Linked DNA regions of Homo sapiens: region 2 is linked to region 1. Evidence: promoter capture Hi-C in 16 types of primary human blood cells and fetal thymus (Javierre and others, 2016). All regions are on one chromosome and are shown on one strand. Each heading gives the region's core, a stretch centred on a gene start or on the middle of the fragment in contact. The rest is flanking DNA. Distances are from core to core; before and after follow the strand shown.

Region 1 (5,856 bases), core at 1,373-3,872:
TACTTATTAGTTTCTTGTGAATTAACCAGATACAGTATGACCATCTCTGAATACCCTGAAAAATACCTGGGTCCAAATAGTGGCTTTGCTACTCACTAGATGTATACTCTCAGGCTGGGCTCCATTTCTTCATTTGTGTATTGGGGATACTACGATCTTGTGGGATTTCCATAAGTATTAAACAAAATATGATTAGCGCCTTTCACATCATAAGCATTCCACAAATCTATTTCATAGTTTTGTTGTTTCTATTATGATTCCTTATTGCAAAGATCAACAGACATTAGCACAATTTATAATGTGTTAGAGCCCTTCAAACATGTTCCTCAACGGCCATTGTTAACAACATGTGCATTGCTGTCTTTGATTCACCATTGCTAAGGCAAAATGAGTGATGATATATGTGAAAAATGAAAGAAAAGGTCTATAGATAGGCAAGATGCCTTTTTCCTTTGACTTTCAGCTCCTGGAAGACAGGGGCCTTGTATCTCTATACCCGGAGTGCCTAGTAATGGGCAGGTATTTCTGCTGAATGAATGGATATGCTAATTATCAACTAGAAGGTTCTGAAAAAGAGAGTTGTCGTTGGAGGTGCTGTGTAGATCCAATAATAATAGAAACCAGCTCCTGGAAGGGAATGCCAGCTTGGCAGAGCTTGCGAGTGAGAAGCAAGTCTTTAATAAGCTATTGGTGTTCATAGCTAGAGAGAAAGGGGAATTTAGATTGGGAGACGGGATGGCTTCAAGGATTCCTGATCAGGTTTTTATTCTGACGAAAGCTTGCTGGAAAATGTCTCAGCTCTCTGATATTGTGAATGCCTGTCTGCAAGAGGCGCAGGAAAATCAGGCGAAATCGGTTAGGGTGTTCTGCTCAGTAAGGCTGAATGTGATGGATGGCTCGGTGTGCTGTTTATCTACTGCAGGTTGGTATTTCACCTCTGTTTTCATTAGACTGATGGTAAGGTAATAATTCTTTCCTCTGGCTGAAAAATCTGTCTTCAGCCATTTGTTGATCTTCTTGAACGGGAAGTTCAGGTGCACAGAAGTCACCCTAAAGGAGATTTTGAATGAAAACTTAAATAATGCTGGTCGGCATCCACGGAGCTCTCCGGCAGCACAGGCCTCCGCTAGACTGGCTGTGATTATTAGGTGTGCAGCGTCACATTTGCCCAAGGACAGCAAGCCTACGGAATGATACAGGGTAACCACCGCTGTAGGAAACAAAGCGTGAACATCACATTTGATTTCTTTGGAAACACTCAAGCTTATATTGTAAATTAAATTAAAGCAATGCAGTCTTTATGAGGTGTTTCCATGTAGCACTGTGTTACGGTGGAAAATGCCCCAGCCCGGGCCTCGGAAGTCTCCACCATGATACTCCCTCTGGGCAAATCTCTTAATGTCTCTGAGCCTCCATTTCTTCATCTCTCAAGAGATAATAATAATGTATGCACTGGTTTTTAATAGAAAGCTCTTATCAAGATGATATAGCTTTGAGTTTTTTCCCAAGGCGAGGAGGAACAAACAGAACAATGACAGAGGCTAGTGGCTTTAGTAAGCTGCAGCTCTATAGCTCCTCCCTCTTTCCAACCTCTCTGATGGAGGGCACAGAAAGGAAGATGACAGAGTTGGCTCATTAAGCATTGATCAAGGAAGGACTCTCCCCACACCCGACAGAACAGATCCATCCAAGCAGTTTTCTGAGTTTGTGAGCTGATGGGCAAAGTGATAGAGCTTCCACTCACAGGGCTCGTCAGTTGCTCCATCGGGAAGGGGACTGCTGAAAGGTTTCATCCACCCGAGACAGAGTGGCCAGTAGAAAAGACAGAATCTTGTAACTGCTGGTTCTAACTCGTGGGACTTCCATTAAGGATGAGGGTCCCTTTCTTCCTATAAACCTGTGAGGACAGCCCATCCATTACTTCTATACTGTGGGTTACCTGCATAAGAAACGGTTCTCATTTAATGTAACGAGGTGCCCATATGTCCTGATTTGTTCCTGACAGTCCTATTTATGCTTTTTGTCCCAGAATAAATATTACAGCACTACCATTAACTCTCAGAGTCTCTGGGTTTGGTCAGTAAATTATATGACACAAACGCATTAATTTTATAATAGGCACCTTCTCAATTCCCAGCAAATGCTTCATATGTATCACCACTAACCTCTCTACCATCGGTTTGGTTGATTTGTGATATACAAATACAAATACATTTTTACTTTATATTTTTCACATAGCAATTTCTAGTCATCAATATCATTTTCACAGCACTCCTGAGTTGAGGGAGAGTAATTACAAAGAATTGTGATTAATAAAATGATGAAGGATTTTCTTTCAAATACATTTATGAGAATAAACTAACATAACTTTTGTATAGTGTCAATTAAATGCAAACTTACTGGCCAAGCACAGTGGCTCAAGCCTGTAACCCCAACACTTTGGGAGGCCAAGGTGAGAAGATCACTTGAGACTAGGAGTTGAAGACCAACCTGGGCAACATGATGAAACACTATCTCTACAAAAACTAAAAATACAAAAAATTAGCTGGGCATGGTGGCACACACCTGTAGTCCCAGCTACCTGGGAGGCTGAGGTGGGAGGATCAACTGAGCCCTGGAGGTCAAGGCTGCAGTGAGCCGTGAGCATGCCACTGCACTCCAGCCTGGATGACAGAGTGAGACCCTGTCTCAAAAAAAAAAAAAAAAGTAAACTACTGTAATTTATAATTCTGAAATAACAATGTCAACTAAAGCAGTATTATTACTATTTTTAGAGACAGAGGCTTGCTCTGTCAACCAGGCTGGAGTGCAGTGGCATGATCATAGCTCACTGCAGCCTGAGACTCCTGGGCTCAAGCCATCCTTCTGCCTCAGCCTCCAGAGTAACTGGGACTACAGGCATGCATCACTATACCCAGCTAATTCTTTTAACTTTTGTTTGTTTGTTTGTTTTTTGTAGAGAGGGACTCTCTCTATGTTGCACAGGCTGGTCTTGAACTTCTGGTCTTAAGTGATCCTTCCACCTTGGCCTCCCAAATTGCTGGGATTATAGGCAAAAGTCACCATGCCCAGCCAATAATTATTTTTATTTATTTGTTCTTCATTTAAGCAATCATTCAACAAATGATTGTTTGTGAAATGTTTCCAGGTACTGTGCTACATAAGAGAAATTTAGACAGAGACTTTTACCATAGGAATTTATAGGAAATGGGTTTAAGAGACAAGTAGATTATAATGAGACAAGATTATAATATGGCTAGAGTAGCACAGAACAGGAGCACCTAACCCAGCCAGCTTCATGCCACCAGACAGCCAGGAATGGAGGGATGTGGTAGTGAGGCATGGCTTCCAAGTGGCGGTGATGTGGAGCTGTCTTGAAGGACATGTAGGAATTAGTCAAGGGAGAAATATAAGAAAAATACTTTATAGTGTCTTTTCCAATATTAGAAAATAAAATAATTAAGACAGATGTTAAAGCCAGGAAACATTCTCTTCCTTGAATATTCTCTTCCTGTGTGATACAGTTTGGATGTTTGTCCCCTCCAAATCTCATGTTGATATTGATTGCCAGTGTTGGGGGTGACTGGACCATGGAGGCGGATCCCTCATGAATGGTTTTGCATCATCCCCTTGATGATAAGTGAGTTCCCACCCAGTTAATTCATGAGACATCTGGTTGTTTAAAAGTCTAGGACCTCCCCGTCTCTCTTTCTTGCTCTAGCTCTCACCATGTGACGTGCCTGCTTCCACTTCTCCTTCTACCATGATTGGAAGATTCCTGAGGCCTTCACCAGAAGCCTAGCAGATGCTGGTGCCATGCTTGTACAGCCTGCAGAAACATGAGCCAATTAAAGCCCTTTCGTTTATAAATTACCCAGCATCAGGTATTTTTTCATAGCAACGCAAATGGCCTAATACACTGTGCATTTGGCAGGAAGCTGTTGCTGGTGGTCTGGGGGACTGAATGATTGAATAAGCTTTCAATTTAGGAAGCTCTTGAGAGAATTCTGTAATAGCACTTTCCAGTAGAAATATGTGATTCACGAATAGAATTTTAAATGTTCTAGTAGCTCCGTAATAACATTACAAAAAAAAAGGTGAAATTCATTTTAATAATCTTATATTTCACCCAGTATTTCCAAAATATTATCATTTCAACGTGGAATCAATATAAAAATAATGAGCTATTTTGCAATTTTGTTTTTATATGAAGTCTTCAAAATCTGGTGTGTATTTTACATGTATATGTTTCAATTTGTACCAGCAAATTGCAGAGCTCAATAGCCACATGTGGCTAGTGGCTCTTATATTGAGGAGTCCAGTTTTATAACATCAACATTAAATCTCACCATGGTCACCAATGAAAATGAACCCAGAGTATTCTGGCTGGATTTATTCATGATAACTAATCCCTCACTTACATAAACAGTGTATGCTTCAAGAAGGGAGAACAAAGATTCTGTAAAGATCTATGTCCTAGGCATTTCTCTTATATTTGACAGCCAATAGTGTTTATGACAAGCCCTATACTTCATAAGCAAGCTATGACACAGTATTGTAAATACAAATGTTTTAACTGTGGGTATAGTAAAAGCATTTTGGGCTTCCCAGATTGGCTAGATTCCACCATCACTGGGGCCTGTTTGTGATTATGCATCTATGATACAACTCAGAACCAATTATTCCATCATAAAAGGCATGGTCAAGGCAAACTCTCACACATAATGTCACCTGTGATCATTTTTTTCTTACTGAAATAGCTGCAGTGCTGTTGTATACAAGCGTATTTCTTTTAATGAGATAAGACAAAATGATAGCATTGAGATGAGAGACTTGTAATGACTTCCCACTGGGAGCAATGATCTCTGGTTCTTAGTTTCTCCACCTGTGAAATGGCAGTAATAATTTTGGCCCTAAGGTCTTAGTACCATGAGGATATGAACAAATACTTTTCATTTGTCTGATTCTCAGTTTAGCACAGGACTTATGATTGCAAAAGTATTTCTTCAATCTCCAGAAGTGTTTGTGAGAGAGAGGGCCATCCAGTGAATTACTTTTTCTTTATTTTCTTTAGTGGGTCACTCACAGTTTGTGACAAGAGCATTAGCAATTGCATAGCTGGTGCCAGGGGCACTGTGGAGTCATTGAGGAAGTCACTGTTAGCTACAACCCGTATGAAAGCCAATTACTCTCTAGAGAGGCAACATGCCATCCTGAGAGAATACAGGGCTGGTGCCTCAAAGTTTTTCCACAGACAAGGTACGCAGCCTGGGGCAAACTATTTTAACTGCAGCTTTCTCAGCTGTGAAAAATGAGAATGGCAATCCTTACTGCTTTGGAAGAGAGTTGTGTTTATTAATTAGTTTGTATTTCAAAGTGCTTCACAACTGGAAAGTTTCACTATTGGATTAAGGAAAAATTTCCTTTCATTTTATCCCTCTCCACATTAGGATGAAAAGAAACTGTGCTTGCTGAGGCTGGGAGAAAAACGGAGGGGATTCAGGCAAAAAAGCTAACAAACCTGACTTCCATGGTAGTGGCTCATTTCCCCGGCTGTAAGATGGCACCCATTAAAGGGAGCTTTGTAAATTAGGTATCTTAAAGGGCAGCCAAACCTGCCATCTGAAGAATTACTTTTGTTTTAGACTTAATTTTTATGATTGCTTCAAGAAAAAAAGGGAAAGAAAATGAGCCAAATCACACTGTGATAGGGGATTTGAAAATGAGAAGTAGCATAAACAATATCATGTTTTCTTGCCTGAAAAATAGGAGGTTGGATCTGCTTATATGCCAGCCTTTAGACTCTCAAATCTCCTTGTTCTATTTCTAGCTTATCTCGGTAGGTCCACCAGTATT
Region 2 (5,856 bases), core at 217-2,716, 510 kb after region 1:
GGCGGGCACAGGAGAGAGTGCGGGCGTGGACATGTGTTCACGCCCGGACACACACACACACACACACACACACACACACACACACAGAGCCTGGCACGGAGGTGGGGAAGCAGAGGGCAAGGCAGGCTCTAAACTGGAACCTGAGGGAACAGAGACAAGAGCAGGCCCGCCGGGGCATCTGCTTGACTCCAGCGGCGCGCGTCAGCTAGCGGCTTGGATAAAGTCCAGTGCAAGGATCAAACTCCCCCCACTTCCCCACCCCCCGCCTCTCTCCCTTAAAAGCAGGAGGCTCCGGTGTATGCACTCACACTGGCTTGAAATCTCCCTCCCTCCCTCCCTCCATGGTATCTAGCAACCCCCTGCCCAAAACTGGGAAAAGGCTCTCGACAGCTATTAATGTCCTCCTCGAAGTCTACCTTAAGCCCACCTAAATTGGTTTCCTACCATAAACACACTTTACAACGGCCCAGGAAATCTTATAGGATGTATAAACCTCTTCGAATGCTTATAAAGTAGCACATAAAAAGGCGCAAGCAGAGGGAGGCCTCCGCCCCCCCCCCCTCCCCCGCGGCCCCCGGGCCCACCGCTTGCCCAGTACCCGGTGCCTACCTGCGCTGCTGCTCTTCTCGGCCCCCGCCTCTCCCGGGGGGCCCTCGCCGTCGCCACCGCTGCCTTCTGCTGCCCCCTTGGGCTCCGAGCCAGGGGTCGCCTTGGTGCAGGGACTGCCCCCGCCGCCACCAGCCCCGGTCCTGGGGTCGCCCTTGTCGGCTGCGCCCTCGGGCTGTGGCGGCGCGGGTGGCGGCGGGGGCTGCGGCCCGGCGAACGGGGGCCCGGGCGCTGCCTCGTAGAACTGGTCGAAGCCCTGTGGCAAGATGCCATTGCGGCCCACCGCGCTGTAGAAGTTGGAGGCGGCGCCCGCGGGGCCGTGCGGCGGCCCCGGCGCAGCGCACACCGGCTCAGGCGCCTTGAAGAGCACGTCCGGCCGGCGGCCCGCGGGCGGGAGAAGCTCGCGTTGCATGGCCGCCTCCTCGGCCGCCGCGGCCGCCGCAGCCGCCGCCGCCGCCGCCGCGTAGTAGGGAGCGTAGCCCCCCGCGCCGCCGCCGCCCCCGCCGGGGCCGCCCCCGCTGCTGCCGCCCCCCGCGCTGCCGCCGCCGCCGCCGCCGCGGTACGGCCACTTGGCGCGCTCCAGGCCGTAGTCGCGGAAGGCCACTTCGCGCACGGGCTGGACGTGCGGAGCCAGGTTGGAAGAGTAGGGGAAAGTCATCTGGCAGGACGACGGTTGGGAAAGGAACGAAGGCTTGCTAGCGAAGTCAGACGGGGCCACATAGTAGGCGCAGCCCGGCAGGTACATGCTGGCTGCGCTCTGGCCGCACTCGTCAAAGTCGTTCATGACTCCGCGGCGTGCGCGCCAGCGAGCCTCTGGCCGCTCCCCGCGCAGCCAACCTGAGCCATCGATTGCACAAGAGGCTTGGGCCAGGATCAACTAAGCAAAAATCCCCACCGGGCGCTGACGTGCAATTCATCTTGATTGATTCTGGTGGTAATTATGTCACGTGACGCCATGAAGAGAAATGTCCTTATATCTATATCAACGCTCGCCAACACGCCCCGGGACGGCTCCTGGCGCCGAGACGCGCGCGCTGGGGGCGGATCGGCTGCCCTCTGCCGCCAGCTCTCCCCGGGCGCTCCCTGACCAGGCTGCGCCTCAGGCCGGTCACCTGCGCGCCGCTGGCCGCTGTCACCGCTGGGCGCATCTGCCACCGCCCGAACGGGCCGCCCGCCCGCGTCCGCCCTCCCGCGCCGCTTTAAGTACGCGGACCGAGGCCGGCGGGGAGGAGGAAGGAGGGGGAAGAGGGGGAGGAAGGGGGAAGGGAGAGAAGCAGCGAGCAGAGGGGGGGAAGCCCCGGCTCCAGGCTCCCTAGAAGCTAGGAACTAGGTGTGAGGGTGTGAGGTTCCGAACCCCACCCCCCTTACTGCAGCCGCTCCCTCCCCCGCGACTCTGCCACCCTCTGCAGCTCACCCGCCTGGGAGCTTGTTGCTTCTTGTTCACCGGGCGGGAGTAATTTCGCCACTCTCCAGGGCGCAGGGAGCCCTGATTTACATATTTTTCTGCCCAGCGCGTTCAGAGTGGAGTGACTTGGCTCTTTCCGGTTCTGACCCCAAGGGTGCGAGTGCTGGCCTCGGAAAAACCCAGGCCATTCACCACCTAGGCACTCACCCAGGCCGGGGCCTTCGTGCCCACCCGGCTCTCTTCCCTTCTCTCTGGTTTCCCTCTCTGTTCTTGTCTCTCTTTCTCCTTGCCTCGTTTCTCTTCAGTCTTCTCCCTTCTCTCTCCTGTCTTCACTTCTCTCCTTCCTCTTCTTTTCCGCTTTCCTTCTTCCTTCCTCTTGCTTTCCTGTCTCCCTTCTCCTCTCTCTCTCTGTCCTCTCATCCTCTCCCCTCCTTTCCTCTAAGCTGTGTGTCACTGTCTCTGTCTCTCTCCCCGTTGCCTCTCTGCCTTCTCCTTCAGCACTGAAGCCAGGAGGGGGCTCAGCCCGTGGTCCCCAGCCTCCCTAGAATCTGGGGAGTCTGGTGAACAAAAGGATCTGGAGTCCTACTCTTAGGGTGCTTGGCTTCCCGCTGGCTCCCCACAAGAGACAACCCCCACACACTCGCACCTTCGTCCTCCTCACCCCTCTGCTTTCAGGCCTAGCCTGGGTGTCCGCCTTATACCTAGACCCTTCACTGCTTCGGAGCCCCGCCAAGGCCTGCGAATCCACGCCGCGTTTCCCCGAGGCTCTTCTGGTACCCTTGGGTCTGCATGGTCACTTCAGCCCCTCCCCCAAGATAGGTTGTCTCTCTAAGGGCTCTCAGCGGAGCCTGACTCCCTCCTGGAGCCCCTCTGTGTCACCTGGCTCTGAGGCAGACTCTTCGTGGGGCACCCCATCCACTCCCCCAAGGCCTCACTCTCCTCCCAGCCTGCCGCGACCCTCTCCTAGCCCATGGGTCCAGGCAAGGCCTGGGATCCCACCTCCGAGTGAGCAGACGCTTTTCAAAGGTAAACCGTCTCTTCCCAAACCCAAATCCCAGAACCGAGGGCAGGAGGCTGCCCCTTTCCCCAAGATTCCTCCGCCCAGGCAATCCCAGCGCTGGGGCCTGGGCCTCAGTCCTATACCCAGGGCAGGCGGCGCTGGCTGTGATGCTGGTTCCCTCCCTGGCCCGGGCTGCTGCAGTGCCGGTGCTGTGCGCTCTGCCCACCGTGCGGACAGACAGAGAAAAGGCGGGTGGTCTGAGCTAATATCTATTTTCTGGCTGATGTACCCCCCCTTCCTCTTTTTCTCCTCCCTCCCTTTCTCCCTTCCTCTCTCCTTCCTCCGCCCCTTCCCATGTCTTCTTCCCTCCCCCAACACTGCGCAAATAGGTCTGTGGCGACTGGAGGGCATCGAGCCTCCCCCAACTAGAACTGCCCATCTTGTGTGCTCCCTCCCCGCAGCTGGCACCCCCGCCCAGATTCCAGCTGACATTCTTCTCCTCAACCCAGACCCCCAGCACACTTATCTGCCTCCCCATCTCCATCCCAGGCCCAAGCCTCTCCCTTTCGGGCTCGTGGTCGACGCCCCTGGATCTCTCTCCTAAAATGGCTCCCTGGACGCTGCACACTGGCCCTGCGGTAGCTCAGGACCCAGGGCAGCTGCGAGGACTTCAACCCGGGTCTTTATGTGTCTGGGGATTCGCAAAATTCTCGCACCTTCTCTCTACTGGCGGCACGGGGTGGGGTGCAGGCAGCCCGGCGCCCCCAGTATGGAGCCTGCTGACCGCCGAAGAGGGAAAAGGGGAGGACGAACCATTCAAGTTCAACGACATGGCGACGGCAGCTCCGGCGGGAGCAGCGATTTGGCGGGGGAGGGTGAGCCATCTGCAGTGGCGCGCCGGTGCATAGGGGAAGGGGGCGGCCGGCCCCTTTCGGCTCCTTAGCGCGGACCCTTGCCCCCCGACCCACTCCACAACCCAGAGCGCTTTCATTCCAGTCCCAGCCCGCTTGGCTCTTTGGCCCCAGCTCCCTCCTAGTTCCTACCCCCATTCCCCAAACCCAGGGAAAACCGCAGCCTCCGGACCCGCGCGTCCCGCTCGAGAACCTACCGTGAAGACCCCGACTCTGTGGCCTTGTCCTTGCCTGCGCGGCCCCACCCGAAACGCAGGGAGCGCACCAGGCCTTCGGGGCGCAGCCAGCCGCTCCGCGAGAAAGAGCTTTCCGCACAGCGCCAGGACGCGATGCGGTGATTTTGAGTCACCCAAGATAAGACACTAACTTGACCTTAACTTTGTCAGGGCGCCCCTGGTATCTGGAGAACGTGAACAGACACTGTCTGGCAGCTCTCGTAAAAGCTGACTGGGGAAGGGATTCTGAGTCATTTCATTTATTGCCACTACAGTTCTGCAAGAAAGCTTTTCCTCCCTGCCAAACTTTAATTATTTATGCTCTTTTAAGAAACGAAAGAAGAGAAATGCAGGGAAAACACCCAGAGCCAGTTCCTTCCCTACAGAGCCTTCGGAATGGACTTCTTAAGTCAAGCGACTGGAGAACAAAAATATGGGGAGATCACCTTTGTCTAAGGACAGTGGGGCAGTCGCCTTGCCCTCCCCCACTATCACTGAGGGGGGAATGCAGCTGGGAGAGGCGGGTGAAGGGTGAAGGGGCATCCCCCCACATGAATATTTACAACGGTTCCAGATTTCTCTTCCACCCGCCGGCATCCCGGAAGCCTCCTCAGCCCGCCTCCCTGGGGGAGAACCCCCAGGCCTTAAAAGCGTCCCCCCTTCCCCGCCGCCCTCTGAGTTCCCAACTGATTGAATGCCAGATGAAGCTGTTTTTTTCTCGTTTTAAAACTGTTTTCTTGGTCAAGAGGCCCGCTTGGACTGCAGCATTTCAGAGGACACATTTGTCTTTCTGAAGGGAATGTTGAGCACTCAGATTTTAGCGTCCTTTCTCTTCGGCTTTTTTTTTTTTTTTTTTTTTTTAACAAATTTCCTAGTGGTTCCAAATCTCTGCGGGAACCCGGGCTATGGAAGGAGACACCAGAGTCTTTGTATTTGTGTGAAATAGCAAACGGGATAGATTTGGAAAAGACTGCTGAACCAAGAGATACGCTTTTATATTTAGAATAATTTAATTTTCTTTGAGGAGTGATCTCCATGAATATCCCCTCCCCCCACTCATCCCAGGCTAAAGGGAAAGAACACGATGATTTAATGATATATTTTGGAAAGAAACGGCCTCCGTGTTTTCTGTCTTAAGGCCTGGATCTGAGTTCATATGCTTTCCTCCTCCTTTCCCCAGCCTTCCGAGCGCTCAGTGCGGCTTCAGCCTTTGTTCAGTTGTTTTTGAGGAGGCAAACCTCTGAATGCAGACTCAGACTTGGAGATCCTGCTCTGGGTACCATCGCCTCTATGTGCCCAGCCAGGTGGAGAATCCTTTTGAGCCATAGGGCCTTGGCAGCTCTTGCTTCTTTCTCTCCTATTGAATATATATACATATAGGTATATATAGTTGTGTGTGTGTATACAATTAAAGAACAATTAAAAATTTCAATTATACACCAAATTTGCTTCTGGGAAAGGGAGTTGAAATGTTGAATATTCAGTGTTAGTGATTTAGTGGTTTTGCTAATTCTTCCTCTAGCTAAAAGCTAGTTTCCACCTCCACCAGCTAGGAGCTTGTTTTTGCAAGAAAATGAGTAGCAAGCAGGCCCTGAATTTCCTGGACTAAGCTAGAGGTTCAGATGGACTAGGGAGTTTTGAGGCCCCATTTCCCAAGGGAGTCTGCTGGGCGCCTGGTAAACCTGCTGGTATCAAGGATTTAGCAGGACATAGCCGGTT

What was found. The method cuts DNA at HindIII sites, captures the fragments that hold promoters and counts their contacts. A CHiCAGO score of 5 or more calls a contact.
Region 2: the fragment with the promoter of HOXD11 here is called in contact with a fragment that was not itself captured in region 1 in 1 of 17 cell types (fetal thymus); the score reaches 5.2 in fetal thymus.

What each region holds. Positions count from the first base shown.
Region 1 is chr2:176,614,491-176,620,346 of GRCh38, reverse strand. All of the region lies in intron 4 of LINC01116 (long intergenic non-protein coding RNA 1116), which reads left to right. Among named protein-coding and RNA genes, the nearest start is that of MIR1246, 16 kb to the right of the region's middle. The HindIII fragment of the contact is 2,714 bases long and covers 1,266-3,979 here.
Region 2 is chr2:176,102,890-176,108,745 of GRCh38, reverse strand. It overlaps HOXD11 (homeobox D11), which reads right to left and starts at 1,466. Exons shown (of 2, transcript NM_021192.3): 1 at 610-1,466. The coding sequence starts at 1,390. RefSeq lists an enhancer at 3,610-4,596. The HindIII fragment of the contact is 7,005 bases long and covers 1-4,427 here.